Linked DNA regions of Homo sapiens: region 2 is linked to region 1. Evidence: promoter capture Hi-C in human tissues and cell types (Jung and others, 2019). All regions are on one chromosome and are shown on one strand. Each heading gives the region's core, a stretch centred on a gene start or on the middle of the fragment in contact. The rest is flanking DNA. Distances are from core to core; before and after follow the strand shown. Region 1 holds the start of EHF (ETS homologous factor). Region 2 overlaps LOC102723568 (a long non-coding RNA gene).

What was found. Contacts are between HindIII fragments. The study calls those that stand out against the background at their distance.
Region 2: a fragment that was not itself captured here is called in contact with the fragment with the promoter of EHF in region 1 in 4 of the 25 tissues and cell types used here (adrenal gland, lymphoblastoid cells, mesenchymal stem cells and 1 more).

Annotation. Positions count from the first base shown.
Region 1 is chr11:34,615,064-34,622,342 of GRCh38, forward strand. EHF (ETS homologous factor) reads left to right here and starts at 6,030. Exons shown (of 9, transcript NM_012153.6): 1 at 6,030-6,165. RefSeq lists a cis regulatory region at 3,931-4,330. The HindIII fragment of the contact is 9,385 bases long and covers 1,096-7,279 here.
Region 2 is chr11:34,707,697-34,714,975 of GRCh38, forward strand. LOC102723568 (a long non-coding RNA gene) reads left to right here. Exons shown (of 7, transcript XR_007062652.1): 2 at 6,998-7,111. It also overlaps the pseudogene NDUFB8P3. Among named protein-coding and RNA genes, the nearest start is that of EHF, 90 kb to the left of the region's middle. The HindIII fragment of the contact is 4,531 bases long and covers 325-4,855 here.

The DNA.
Region 1 (7,279 bases), core at 4,780-7,279:
GCAAATTAAATTCTTAGTCTAGTCACTGGGAAAAGATGAAAACTTAACGAATATGAATAGTCACTATTCTGTTTCTTTTTTTCTATGCCATTCCGGCTTCACCTCCTTCTCTTACTTTTTCCCTTTCTTTTTTCATTTGTTTTCTTTTTTTTTTTTTTCTTTTTTGAGATGGAGTTTCGCTCTTGTTGCCCAGACTGGAGTACAATGGCATGATCTTGGCTCGCTGCAACCTCCACCTCCCAGGTTCAAGCGATTCTCCTGCCTCAGCCTCTCGAGTACCTGGGATTACAGGTGCCCACCACCATGCCTGGCTAATTTTTGTATTTTTAGTAGAGATGGGGTTTCACCATGTTGGCCAGGCTGGTCTTGAACTTCTGACCTCAGGTGATCCACCCACCTCAGCCTCCCAAAGTGCTGGGATAACAGGATGCCGCACCACTGTGCCTGGCCTCTTCTACTTTTTCTTAGAAACATGGAGGGTTAGTTCTCTGGCCACTCATATGAAACTTCATTCCCTGCTAAGGTGGAAGTATTGGAGTTCAAGCTCTACACTTAGTGGAGGGAGTAAATAAGCATTTCCAGAGAGCCCACCAAGTGCCATGCAATCTCCTAATGCTTTGTACTATTTCTCATTTAACCCCCCAAACAGCTCACTGAGTATGTTAATATCCCCAATAAACAGATAGGGAAACTGAGACCTAAAGTTTGAGCAAATATGGCAAAGTTTTCCTAGGCTGTCTGGCTTTAAAAACAATGTCCTTTCACCGCATCAGGCTGCTTCTGAGGAGCAGAGCCACCTTGCTTTTGTAAGTCTGTTGGAATAGGCTCTGAGATGCCACACGTTATCCCAAATAATTAGGCATCTGGATGGAGATTTTATACATTTTCTACTTGGACCTGAGTTTGCTGTCTCTCATGGTTCCTGGGTGAAAGAGGCCAGGCCCTGAGACCTTTACCCAAGGTTGGCTCTACCAAAATATCTTCTTGAGTGAGTTCTCTGGTTGATCATCTGTGGAACAATGTGGGAGCCTACTAAATATGAATGGAAAATGAGGAATGCAAAATGGATGGTTTTCTCCACTATCACCTCACCCTTGGAGGTGTTTGCTGATTTGGTAGATGTGTGGAGGAACTCAGGAGTCTGAATTTGTAAAGGTAATTTGGATGCTTCATTAGCTTAGAAAGGACACAGCAGGGAGAACTATATAGCAGAGAAGGCTGGATGCCTATGAGGGTAGGGAAGGGAAAACAAGGGGGTGGGGCTGTAGCTGCCCTACCTCCGGTCCATATATGGCTGCATTTCTTTAATCTCTTTTACTTTTGGGATTCCATGGTAGTAAACAAAGAGTTCTTATGTTAAAACAATTGCTATCTAATTGTACAGCATGGTGAATATAGTCAATAACAATGTATCATGTATTTGCAAATTGCTAAGAGAGTAGATTGTGTTTTCACCACACACAAAAATGGCAAGTATGTGAGGTAATGCCCATGTTAATTAGCTCAATTTAGCCACTCCACAATGTGTGTGTGTGTGTGTGTGTATATATATATATATATATGTTTATGTATATATACACACACACATATATATGACATGTCAGAATGTCATGTTTTATTCCATAAATATATACAAATTTTATTTGTCAATATAAAAAGAATAATACCTGGAAAAACAAAAAAAAATCCTAAGTGCTATACTTATAAAGAAATCTTCCTCATACAAAAAAGAAGAAATTCTGGCCACAGGAAGGTTGCCTGAAAATGGCCACCTTTTTCATGATTTTCCCTCCCTTTCTGAGACTGAGAAATGAGCCTTCTTGAAGACCCTGATGGAAATACTGTGAAGAAACTAAGACAGTTGGATTCAAGAACCAAAATGCTTATCGTAGCAGTGAGGTTGGCTTGAAGTCAGGGAACAGTGTAAAGCTATTTGTGGGGAAAGATAAGGCCAGAAAGAGATTGATAAAATACAGGCGAGACCAAAGGAACAGGGCAGGGGCAAATTAGTTTAGGCAAGAATAGAGGCGTCTTGATATTAATTAAAATATGGAGGAGGAGTCCAGAAAATTCATCCTTGGTGCTTGGGTAAGTTTAGCAACATGTTCAGATGCCTGAGTTTTGTGTGTGTATGTGTGTGGGCATGCACGTGTGTGTGTACACAGTGGGTCATTCTTCTCAGGAAGAGTGAGCCACTCTCCCCTCCTCCAGCACCAAAGTGGCCCCCACCTTGGCACGCCAGTGGCACATGCCATTGGGCCAGGATTTGCTCAGAATGCAGGCACACAGACATAATGTCAGGAGGCATTGCTGGTGTGTGTCACATCAACCTGTTAGAACAACTGTCAACGTGTGACCTCCCAAACAGAACTCAGGTGCCCCCTTCAGAGACCGTAAAGCTTGTCCTTAGAGGATAATGAAGATCCCCAGGAACCTCATCTAATCCAAAACCAAAAGATTTGGGAAATGTGACCTTTAGAGGGGAGTAGCATTAAGAAGCAAAATGATACTTATTAATTCTGTTGCTTATTTGACTGTAACCAGTATAATAAATGATCATATTCTGCTCGATTTAATTCCCCCTCCCCATAAGTTTCACAAGACCAGAAGGAGTTTCTTCTTCCCATTGGTCTTACATTAATATTCTTGTACGGCTTTCACTAAATAGATGCCGTGTTCTGCCCTGGAGGTAACACCACGTCATTAGGAGGAGATGATAGACAGAAATATATACAAACACACACTTGCTTTCAAAAATAAATATAGGCCCTCTAGTTAAAAGGTATTGTGTAAAGTGTGTGAGCATCCTCTTTCTTGCAAAGCAAGCACACAGCTTCCATTAATCTTGTAGCCACAGCCTGTGTTGGTGTTAAGACTCAGATTCCTTAATGCTTGATACTTGGCTTAAAGAGATTCTTTGTCCTGGCCTTGATTTGGGAATTAAGATCCCTAGGGTTTTTGGTTTTACAGTATGGATCTTCTAGGAGACAACCCGACTGACCTCCGGGTCTCCAGGCCACCACACACAACCTGGTTTGCTTTGCTCTGTTCCCCTTTTCCTCTGTGGGGACCAGCACAGGACTCAACTCAAGGGCTCTGTGTCTGTGCACAGGTTGGAGAGGGTGATAGGGCCTTGACCTGTAGGGACAACCAGGAAGATTTCTATGCAGAGTAATTGGGTTTCTAGAGTTTGTTTCAGTTGATTTGAGGGCAAGCTGCTTGGCCTCTCTCTCTTGATTCTTCCCATCCACAGAATAAAGACAATCAGCTTTGTTTATCACTCTGTTCATTTTGCTATGTCTTTATCAGCCCCCCAGAGAATTCAGGAGCACAGAACAAGTGCTGGAGGTCTCTCTTGCCAGAGTCCTCCTTGAGAACTTACAATGTGTCCATATTAAGGATCTGCTGTGTTTGATGATTTTGTGATTACACTTTAAACTTCTTATCCATAAAGGACATACTTGATATATCTGAGACTTGTAGTAGAAGGCCTTGAGACATCCATCTCATCCCATCATTATCTATCTATCATCTATCTATCTATCTATCTATCTATCTATCTATCTATCTATCTATCTATCATCTATCTATCTATCGCCAGTACTGTCTTGTTGAAGTTGGCAGTAGGGTGAAAGACCTCAAACTCCAAAGGACTTTCCGTATGGATGCAATATACCTGCAATTCTAGCTTTTTTGTGTTTTTTTTTTTAGGTTGGGGGTGAGGGGTATTGTTTTCATTTTTGTTTTTCTTCTGGAAGGTTCAACTAAGACCCAAGTAAAAAGAAGAATCAATACTTAATAAGTACCCAGCAAGTAGCAGGCACACTTTTAGGTACTTTATTTACAAAAAAACCTCCACAAATAAAGTGGCTTGTGAGTATGAGGTGACATCTTTCCCTCCCCTCCCACCATCACTACCCCAATATGACTCGTCTCAATAGCCCTCCAATCTAAAATGGACTAAATACAAGTGGATAAAGAAATGGAGATTTAACCAGAATTCTTCAGCTATAAATTACAGGGCCTATAATTAAAGGTGATTGGGACTGGGTCAGAGAGCCACATCACTTTTGTGGTTGCATTTGAAGTTCACTATCTCTTGACCACACAACCCTAGCCCTTCTACTCCCACCCTGCTGTCTCAGGTTAATCTCAGGCAATGGTGTAAAGAAGGCCAAGTTTGTTTCCCTGGAGTCCCACGGGCTCTAGCAATAATGCTTCCCTTTTCTCATGAGTGCCCCGCCACCCACCCCCCTTCACCATCACTACACACAAATGCCCTGCAGTGGGTGGAATGTAGTTACTTCAGGTTGTGCCTGATTTGTCTCTCAAGCAAAACTCCAGCAGGCCATTCCCTCAGGGCCCTGCTCTCAGATCTGGAACTGATAGACTAATTGGGGCTAATGTGATAATGGGAAATAATGAAATTTGTTGTTTTTATCAGTGTGTATATGGGGCGGGGTTTACATTTGCATTTTCACAGGGCCCTTGGCAAGTTCACAGGGTTGAACAGTTGGGAAGGGTGGGAATGTCTGGGGCAGGTTAGGGAGGCAGAGGGATTTATTAGAACTCCCCTAAACTGCACTGACCAAAGCCTCAAGCCCTTCTTCAAGACCTGCCCAGCTTCCAAGACCTTCCCAAGTCCACCCTTGTTTTCCCACTGAGTCTTTTACACTTTCAGAAACCTCTGAATTTGTGTAGAAACTAGAAAAAATAAGTAAGAAAAGACTAATACTACTGCACACTCACTGTTCCCCCTTAATATAATAACCAGTTTTTATTCTATTCAGTCAGCCTTTGACCATAAGCAGACCTTTTTTTTTCTTTTTAACACAAGTAACTTCTTGGTTTTGATCACAAAATCTTTATCTCTGCCAAATCTCAACTTCCCTTCCCTCTCCCACAAAAGGGAGGCCCGTTGAGTCAAAGAAATCTGCTTAGACACTTTGCTCATGCCAGGCCAGTGTCCTGGAAGGTTCAACAGAGAAAGTTAATGGTTGGGGGATGGTATTTTTCTTTGCTAGGAGCAGTCATTCACCCGTATGGGAGAAGGTACATTTGTGACCCAGTGAAGCAGGTACAGGTAACTCCCCATATGTCCCTTGGCCCAAGGGAATAGAGGTTGCCTGGGTATTTGAATCCGTAGATCCTCCCTAATATTCCACCTTCTTCTTGTCCAAACTGTGCTTTTTTATTTCCAGTTTCAGCATTTTGGTCTTCTCATCTCTAACTCTTATAGGGAGTGTCAATAAACCTTTTAAAAAAGATCATGTAAGTGTCAAGAGGAAGTGAAGAACCTAGATAATCCACCAACCGGATAATCAGCTCTTGCATATTTGAGAGTTGACTGCTTGACCTAAGCATCTCCTCATAAGGTACCCTCCCTCCCAGGACCTTCCCTTTCAAACCTCTCAAGGCTCTTACCTGGGGCCAGGGGAGATAGGCTTTTCAAAGTCCATTGAATTGCCAAGAGTCTCTGTCAAGAAGGCAGTCATGGTGCCTGGAGAGGGAACTTGCTGGGAGCCCCTTCAGAGCCTGGTACTTATAGAGCTAGGGAAAAGATCTTGATGCCAAAGCAGGGTGGACTAAATACAGACTAATAAATGAGACAGGTGCTCAAGAGGGCCCCTCCATACCATCATCTCCTCCAGATTTGGACTTCTACTCACTTTGCTTTTACATTCCCTCTTCCCGATGGTGTCTTTGGTGAGCAGGGTGCTTTTCACCTGAAACAGCCTCTGAGCTGAAAAGAACAGTCACCACCAAATCAATTCCTCATCCATTAACAGGTTGTCTCTCTGTTCTTGAGACACAGGCATTACCTGGTTAGACCTGTTTTGTTTGAACACTAACGTGTGAGTTGGCCAAATGCAAATGAGCCAGTGTTTGTAATCCTTTATTTTATTTTTTTAAAGGGCTGGGTAGCCAATCAGAAGAGGGGGAAGTGACTTAGGGAATTCCCGGTTGGTGGCTTATTGCTTAACATCCTACAAAATGATTTAAAATTATTGTTATATGCATTTATCTTCACTCTGATGAGGGCTCAGACTTGATAACACCCGTGGTGCCCCATCCCTATAGGAGCTGGTGAGATTGCAGCCTGCTGCCTCCCCTCCAACAGCCACAGCTATTGGATTTCCCACCCAGAATCTTTAGGTAAATGAGGTAAGTCCTGATTTTTAAAACTTCTTTTGAATCTGGAATCCAAACACTTGAGTGGAAAGAGAAGCCTGCTTTAAACTGGACAGATGAAACTAGAACAGACTCTTGGAGACGGCTGGCAGGAAGTGAAGCTCACCTTACCTGGGCTTACCTCACTGGGTCAAATCAGAATTTTATTTTGGAGGGCAGGTTGGCTACTTTGGATATTATCTGTGAATTTCCTGCATTGTCTGGACTTCTAATCTCTGTGAATTTAAAAGCCCCCTCGTTTCCCTATGCCTGGGTGGCAAAACCATTCCCCTGGGTTGAATTCTTCTGGAACAAATAGGCAGCTAGAGATAGGTGGCTCTGATATAGCTCAGAGAAGAAGTGGTTGGCTAAGTAGCTGTTAGGGCTCAGAGTACACGGTCTCGCTTTCTAGAGATGTCTTCTGCTGGTAATTTTTCTGACTTATGAGCTACATGGAAAGGCCAATTTGTTTTTAATATGTTCCAGGACTGGAAAATGGCTAGAAATAGGCAAGAACATACACAATCACACTGGAAAAAGTGGCCAGGCAGCCAAGGCAGGCAGAGGTATTGGGGAGAGCTGAATATCTACAAAAACAAAAATTCAGAAAAAACAAAAATCAATTTTGGCAAAGGGCTTCACTGTATAACAAGGGGACAAGCTAACCCTTTGTTTACAAACTAACCCTTTGTTTACTCCATTTTGTCCAGAAAATACAACAATCAGTTTTGGCAAAGGGCTTCACTGTGTAACAAGGGGACAAACTAACCCTTTGTTTACTCCATTTTGGGAGACTATGATCAGACAGGCAGTTGTGACTCAGCAGCAACAAATGCCTTCTGAGACAGGGATTCTTTTGATTTTGCTTGGACATTGTGGAGAAGTGTTAGCCCCAATGTGGACTGATCTGGGAACAGTGGGAAATTAACTTCTTGTTGGTAAATATCAGGCTGAGGTGAGAAAGCGACATTTTCACCGTCCATCTTTGCTGATTTACCATGCTCCCAGGATGGTGGGAGTGTGTGTTTTTAAGATGGAGAGTGTATGCTTCTGGGTTCAAGTTCACAGGTGTCTCTGCTGGTTATCTGCACTCACCTTGGTAACAGGG
Region 2 (7,279 bases), core at 1,340-3,839, 89 kb after region 1:
CTAGGCCTCGCCTAGAAATTGCGGTACTTGTGTCCTAGACTGCATTTCAAGTTTACCTAGAACCCAAGAGCACTTTAGCCTGCAGTGGCAAGTTTTGCTGAAACTCAAGTTCCAACCACTGGGATGGGCAATTTCCCTCTGGCTGGGGCTGGTCCACATGCTCCTTCTGTGAGTGGGTGCCAGCTGAACCAAGCAAGGTTTTGCTCCCTGCTGTGACAGGGCAGCACTGAGTTCAATGCCAAGACCCCTAGTCACTGTGCTTGCCCTGCCTCAAGTGCACAGATTGTTTCTCTATGCCATGTGGCCACTGCCAGGGAGTGGAGGAGAAGTGGCATAGGCAATTCAAGACTGTCTTTCCTACCCTCTTCAATGTCTCTTTCAGCAATATGAAGTTAAAATCAGGTACTGTGATTGCTCACCTGATTTTTGTTTTTTGTGATAGTGCTTTTTTGTGTGTAGTTAGTTGTTAAAATTTAGTGTTCCTTTGGTGGGGGGATAATTGTTGCAGGCTTCTGTTTGGCCATCTTGCTTTGCCCGCTCATTTTCTTGATAATCTGTACCTTTTGTCTTTGTTCTTGATCAGTCTAGATATGTCAACTTCAATACTCTTTTCAAAGAACAGCTTTGTTTTAATCAATTTTCCCTATAGTTTGTCTATTTTTTCTCATTGAATTCTGTCTTATTTTTATTATTTTCTTCTTTCTTGTTATTTTGGGTTTAGTTTGCTTTTATTTCTCTAGCTTACTAAGGTAGAAGCTTAGATAAACTATCTCACATTTTTCTTCTTTTAAGGTATACATTTAATAATATAAATTTTCTTATTATTACTACTTTAGCTGCAGCTTTAAAGTCTTCATATTTTGTTTTCATTTTTATGCAGTTAAAATGTTTTCTAACTGCCTTTATGATTTTTTACTTGACCCATTAATTGCTTAGAAATGTATTGTTTAATTTACATATGCTGTTCAGTTTCCAAAGTTGGCATTATGCAGATGTCTTTGTTATCAATTTCTAATTTCATTCCATCTTGTTGAAAGAACAACTCCATATGATTTCAATGCTTGTGAATTCATTGAAACAGATTTCTATCTCAAAATATGGTTTGTCCTGGTGAATGTTTTATGAACAATGGAAAAGAATACATATTCTGCTGTTGTGTGTAGTTCTATAAATGTCAATTAGGACAGGTTTGGTTAATAGCCTTTTAAAAGTCATCTATATCTTTACTGATATATCTATTTTTGTTATCAATTATTGTGAGAGTAATGCTAGTGTTTCCAGCTATATTTGTTGATTTGTCAATTTCTTTTATTTTTAGTTTCAAATATAGGTTTTGCATCCTGTATTTGAAACTTTTATTAGATGTATTCACTAAAATTAAGATTTTTATTCTTGATAAATTGACCCTTTTATCACTATGAAATGTCTCTTCTTGTTTCTGGTAATATTCCTTATTTTAAAGTCTGCTTTGTTTGATTATAATATAGTCATTCTGGACATCTTTGACTAATGTTTCATGATGTATTTTTTTATCCTTTTATTTTAATTTACCTGCCTTTTTTTTTTTTGGACAGATTCTCACTCTTGTTGCCCAGGCTGGAGTATAATGGCACGATCTTGGCTCACTGCAACCTCTGACTCCTGGGTTCAAGTGATTCTCCTGACTGAGCCTCCCGAGTAGCTGGGATTACAAGCATACACCACCATGCCTGGCTAATTTTTGTATTTTTAGTAGAGATGTGGTTTCACCATGTTGGCCAGATTGGTCTCAAACTCCTGACCTCAGGTGATATGCCTGCCTTGGCCTCCCAAAGTGCTGGGATTACGGACGTGAGCCACCGTGACTAGCCCTGTGTTTTTTTATTTGACCTAGGTTACTTTTAGACCTAATATAATTTTGGGTGAAGTTGGAAGTAGCCAGGGCAGGGGTCCTGGGAATCTAGTGGCTACAAAGGGCAACCCAGAATGTGGTGTCATTGAGTGCATGGCCATCCTTCCACATGATCAAGGACATGCCCCTGGGGTTCTATTCCAAGACCCCAGAAGAATGGGCCACCGCTGCCAAGAAGTATAATATGTGTGTGGAAGACTATCAGCCTTACTTGGATGATGGCATGGAGTATGGTAACTACTCAAAGTTCTTTGACCATTCACAGTAGGAGAGGGATCTGTGGTTTGACTGGGACCACCAAGACTTGAGGTTGAACTGGGGTGAACTGATACACTGGCATCTGGACAAGTATATCAGGAACCATGTGGATATGGCCCTCCACCCCTGTTTCTTGGAATATCATGTTCAATAATCTCTTCAGCTTCCTGACCTTCATGAACTTTATGTTCTATGTAGTGGAGAATTATTCTACCTACCAGCCTGTGGGGCCAAAGCAGTATCCTTTTAATAATCTGTACTTGGGACAAGACAGTGATCCACCAAAGAACCTGAGCTAGTGTTTCACTATGAGATCTAAGGGCTTCATAAGCTTTTGTGCCCTCTACCTAGGACTCCTTAATTCCTAGAAATTTAACTTGAATGAAATCTTTAACAAAACTTAGTGCCATAGGAAAAAATATATACATGTATATGTACATACATAGTTTTTTCTTACTTTCTTATTCATTCTGAAAATCTCTGCCTTTTAAATGCAGTGTTTAGACCACCTACATTTAATGCAATTATTAATTTGATAGTTGTTAGGTCTATTATCTTATGATTTGTTTTACATTCATGCCATGTATTCATTGTTGCTCTTTTCTTTTTCTCATGTCCTATCTTCTTTTAATTAATTTTTTTATTTAAATTTGTCTTTAGTTTTATCTTACTATTTATTCCTGTTTTAACTTTTATTTATACTTTCAGTGCTTAATGTAAAATGTGCAATAATAATCTGCAAATTCTTTCCTACTGTTCTTTGTTATTGTCATAGAATTTATTTTTGTTTGTTGTAAAATCCACAACACATTGATATTACCTTGGCATTAAACAGACAGCTGTTTTTTAACAAAATAAAAAAATAGAGTATAAGTATTTTATTGCCTTACATGTTTAATATTTTCAGTTCTCTTTATTTCTTAATTTATATCCAAATTTATTTATTGTATTAGTGTTCTTCCTCTCAAAGAACTTCTATATCAATTCTTATAATGAAGATGTAATGGTGGTAAGTCTTACCAGCTGTGCTTTGACTGAAATATATTTACTTTATCTCCATATGTGACAGATGTTTTTGCTGGGCTTAGAATTTTAGGTTATCAAAAGTTTTTCAGAGTTTAAAAATGCTATTTTCTCTTCTCACTTGCCTAGATTCTAACAAAAAGGTTACTATCACTCTGATCTTTGTTTCTTTGCATATAGTATGTATACATATTTTAAAGATTTTTCAGATCATCTTTAGTGTTCAGCAATTTGAGTACCACATGTCTTTGTCTTGTATTGTTTGTGCTTGTCTTTCTGGGTTTCATTGAAGTATTTGGATCTGAGATTTATTGCATTTGTAAATATTTTGGCCATATTTCTTGAAAAAAAATTTACCGTTTCTTCTCTTTATAGGACTCCAATTACTTAAATATTAGACCACTTAATATTGTCCCACATGTTACCGAGACTTTATTTCTTTTCAATATTTACTCTCTGTAAGATTCACTGTGAAGAGTTTCTATTGTTCCATCTTCTAGCTCACTAATATTTTCTTATGAAGTGTCTAATCTGCTGTTAATCTTATCCAATGAATTTTCTATTTCAGATATTGTTTTTATTTCTAAAATTTTTATTTGATTTAAAAAATATTTTACATTCCTCTTTCACTATTTTATGTTTTCCTTTAAATATCCGAACATAGTTAAAATAGTGGTTTTAATGTTCTTTTCTGCTAATTATATCATTTTTGTCATTTATGGTCTGTTTCTGTTAACTGATTTTTCTCTTGGTTATGGATCACATTTTCCTGCTTGCAATGTCTAAGACATTTTTACTGGATAATATGATTTATGTGTTGTCCAATATCTGGATTTTGTTGTTTTTCTTTACTTTAATGAGTAAGGTTTTCTTCTGATAGGGAGTTAGGTTTCTTGTGATTCAGTGTTATCTTTTTCAGCTTTGTTTTTAAGCTTATTAAGGTGGATCTAGCATAGCCTTTATTTTAAGAATCATTTAATTTCAAATAAGTTGTAGCTTCATTAATAAGTTTTTGGGGATCTTTACTGAATGTAAAAAGTGATCAGTGAGAATTCTCTACTCTGTTTGAAGGTGGAACCCTTCCTCTGTATATGTAAGCTCTGGGAACCATTCTTCTCATAGATTCTTACTTACTCTTTGACCCAACTCAAGAAGTTTAACTCTATGCATGTGAATCCTAGTATTCAGGAATAGTCAAGAGAGTGTTGATATGGTTTGGCTTTGTGTCCCCACCCAAATCTCATGTCAAGCTGTGGTTGTCAGTGTTGAAGGAGGGGCCGAGTGGGAGGTGATTTAATTGTGGGGGTGAACTTACCCCTTGCTGTTCTTGTGATAGAGTTCTCATGAGATCTGGTTGTTTGAAAAGTGTGTGGGACTTCCCCCTTCTCTCTCTCTCTCTTTCCTGCCCACCATGTAAGACATGCTTGCTTCCCTTTCACCTTTTGCTATGATTGTAAGTTTCTTAAGGCTTCTCCAGCCATGCTTCCTGTACAACTTGTGGATCATGGGTCAATTAAACTTATTTTCTTCATAAATTACCCAAGCTCTGGTATGTCTTTATAGCAGTGTGATAATGGACTAATATAGAAAACTGATATTGAGTAGTGGGGCATTGCTATAAAGATACCTGAAAATATGGAAATGACTTTGGAACTGGGTAACAGACAGAGATTGGAACAGTTCGGAGGGCTGAGAAGAAGACAGGAAGATGAGGGAAAGTTTGGAACTTCCTAGAGATTTGTTGAATGGTTTTGACCAAAATGCTAATAGTGATATGGATATTGAAGTCCAGGCTGATGAGGTCTCAGATGGAAATGAGAAACTTCCTGGGAAATAAAGTAAAGGTCGTTCATGCTATGCTTTAGCAAAGAGATGGGCAGCATTGTGCCACTGCTCTAGGGATCTGTGGAACTTTGAACTTGAGAGAGACGATTTAGGGTATCTAGCAGAAAAAATTTCTAAGCAGCAAAGAGTTCAATAATGTGACCTGGCTGCTTCTAACAACATATGCTTATATGCATTCACAAAGAGATGCTCTTAAATTGGAACTTATATTTAAAAGTGAAGCAGAGCATAAAAGTTTGGAAAACGTGCAGCCTGACTATGCGGTAGAAAAGAAAATCCCATTTTCTGTGGAGAAATTCAAGCCAGCTACATAAATTTGCATAAGTAAAGAGGAGGAGCCAAATATTAATAGCCAGGACAATGGGGAAAATGCCTCTAGGGCATTTCAGAGACCTTCACAGCAGGCCCTCCCATCACAGACCTGGAGGTGTAGGAGGGAAAAATAGTTTCATGGGCTGTTCCTGGGGCCCTGCTGCTCTGTGCAACCTCAGAACATGGCTCCTTTTGTCTCAGCTGCTCCAGCTCCAGTCATGGCTAAAAGGAGCTAAGGTACAGCTCAGACCCTTGCTTCAGAGTGTGTAAACTCCAAGCTTTGGCAGCTTCCACATGGTGTTGGGCCTGTGGGTGCACAGAGGGCAACAGTGGAGACTTGAGACCTCTGCCTTAATTTCAGAGGATGTATGGAAACACCTAGATGTCCAGGCAGAATTCTGCTGCAGGGGCAGAGCCCAAATGGAGAACCTCTATTAGAACAGTGAGGAGGGCAAATGTGAGGTTGGAGCCCCCATACATAATCCCCACTGGGGCACTGCCTAGTGGAGCTGTGAGAAGAAGACTACCATCCTCCAGAACCCAGAATGGTAGATCCACTTGCAAACAGCTTGCACCGTGAGCCTGGAAAAGTTGCAGGCACTCAATGCCAGCCCTTGAGAGCAGCCATGGGAGCTGAGCCTTGCAGAACCACAGGGGCAGAGCTGTCCAAGGCCTTGGGAGTCCACCCCTTGCATCAGTGTGGCCTGGATGTGAGACATGGAGTCAAAGGAAATTATTTTGGAGCTTTAAGATTTAACAACTGCCCTGCTGGGCTTTGGACTTGCATCTGACCTTTAGCCCCTTGGTTTTGGCCAATTTCTTCCTTTTGGAAAGGGAGTATTTACCCAATGCCTGTACTCACATTTTATCTTGAAAGTAACTAACTTGTTTTTTATTTTATAGGCTTATAGGCAGAAGGGACTTGCCTTGTCTCAAATGAGACTTTGGACTTGGACTTTTGAGTTAATGGTATAATGAGTTAAGACTTTGGGGGACTGTTGGGAAGGCATGATTATGTTTTGAAATGTGAAAAGGACATGAGATTTGGGAAGAGCCAGGACAGGATGATATAATTTGGCTCTGTGTCCCCACGCAAGTCTCATGTCAATTTGTGGTTCCCAGTGATGGATGAGGGGCCTGGTGGGAGGTAATTGAATCATGGAAGCAGACTTATTCTTTGTTGTGCCTTATGATTGATTTGTCATGCGATTGGTTGTTTGAGAAGTGTGTGGCATTTCCCCACCTACCCCCACCTCCTGTCCACCACGTAAGATCCGTTTGCTTCTCCTTTACCTTCTGCTATGATTGTAAGTTTCCTAAGGCCTCCCCAGCCATGCTTTCTGTAGAGGCTGTAAAACCGTGAGTTGATTAAACCTCTTTTCTTCATAAATTACCCAGTCTCAGGTATGTCTTTATGGCAGTGTGAGAACAGACTAATACAGATATCTGTTCATATTTTTGTAGCTCTTTTTCTGTAAAGCTTTCTTCTCTTCAGAACTCTAGCACAAAACTTCCAACCACCTCAGCTTTATTGAACTCCAGTATCAAAAACTCATCAAGACCACTGCATACTTATCATGATCTCCTTCCCTGTGTTGTAGTCTAGAATGTTTTTCAAGAAAGACAGGACACTCATAGGAATCATCTTTTTTGTTTCTCTTCTCTCAGGTATTACATTTATGCACTGTCTGCTGCCAAAGATCTGAAACCAATGATCTCATATATATGGTACAGTTTTCTAGTTATTTACAGTGGGAGAGTAAATTATCCATGCTCAGAAGTGTAAGTCTTGTATGTCTTATTTTAAAAAGTTTCTTAGCTTATTCAGATGCATGATCAGGGTTGGGAACCACTCAAAAGTTTTCAATTTTATATTAATGGGGTCTAAGGTGGGTGGAGAGATTGGTGGATGAAATGAATGAACAGATGAGAAGTTAAATATACATAAGG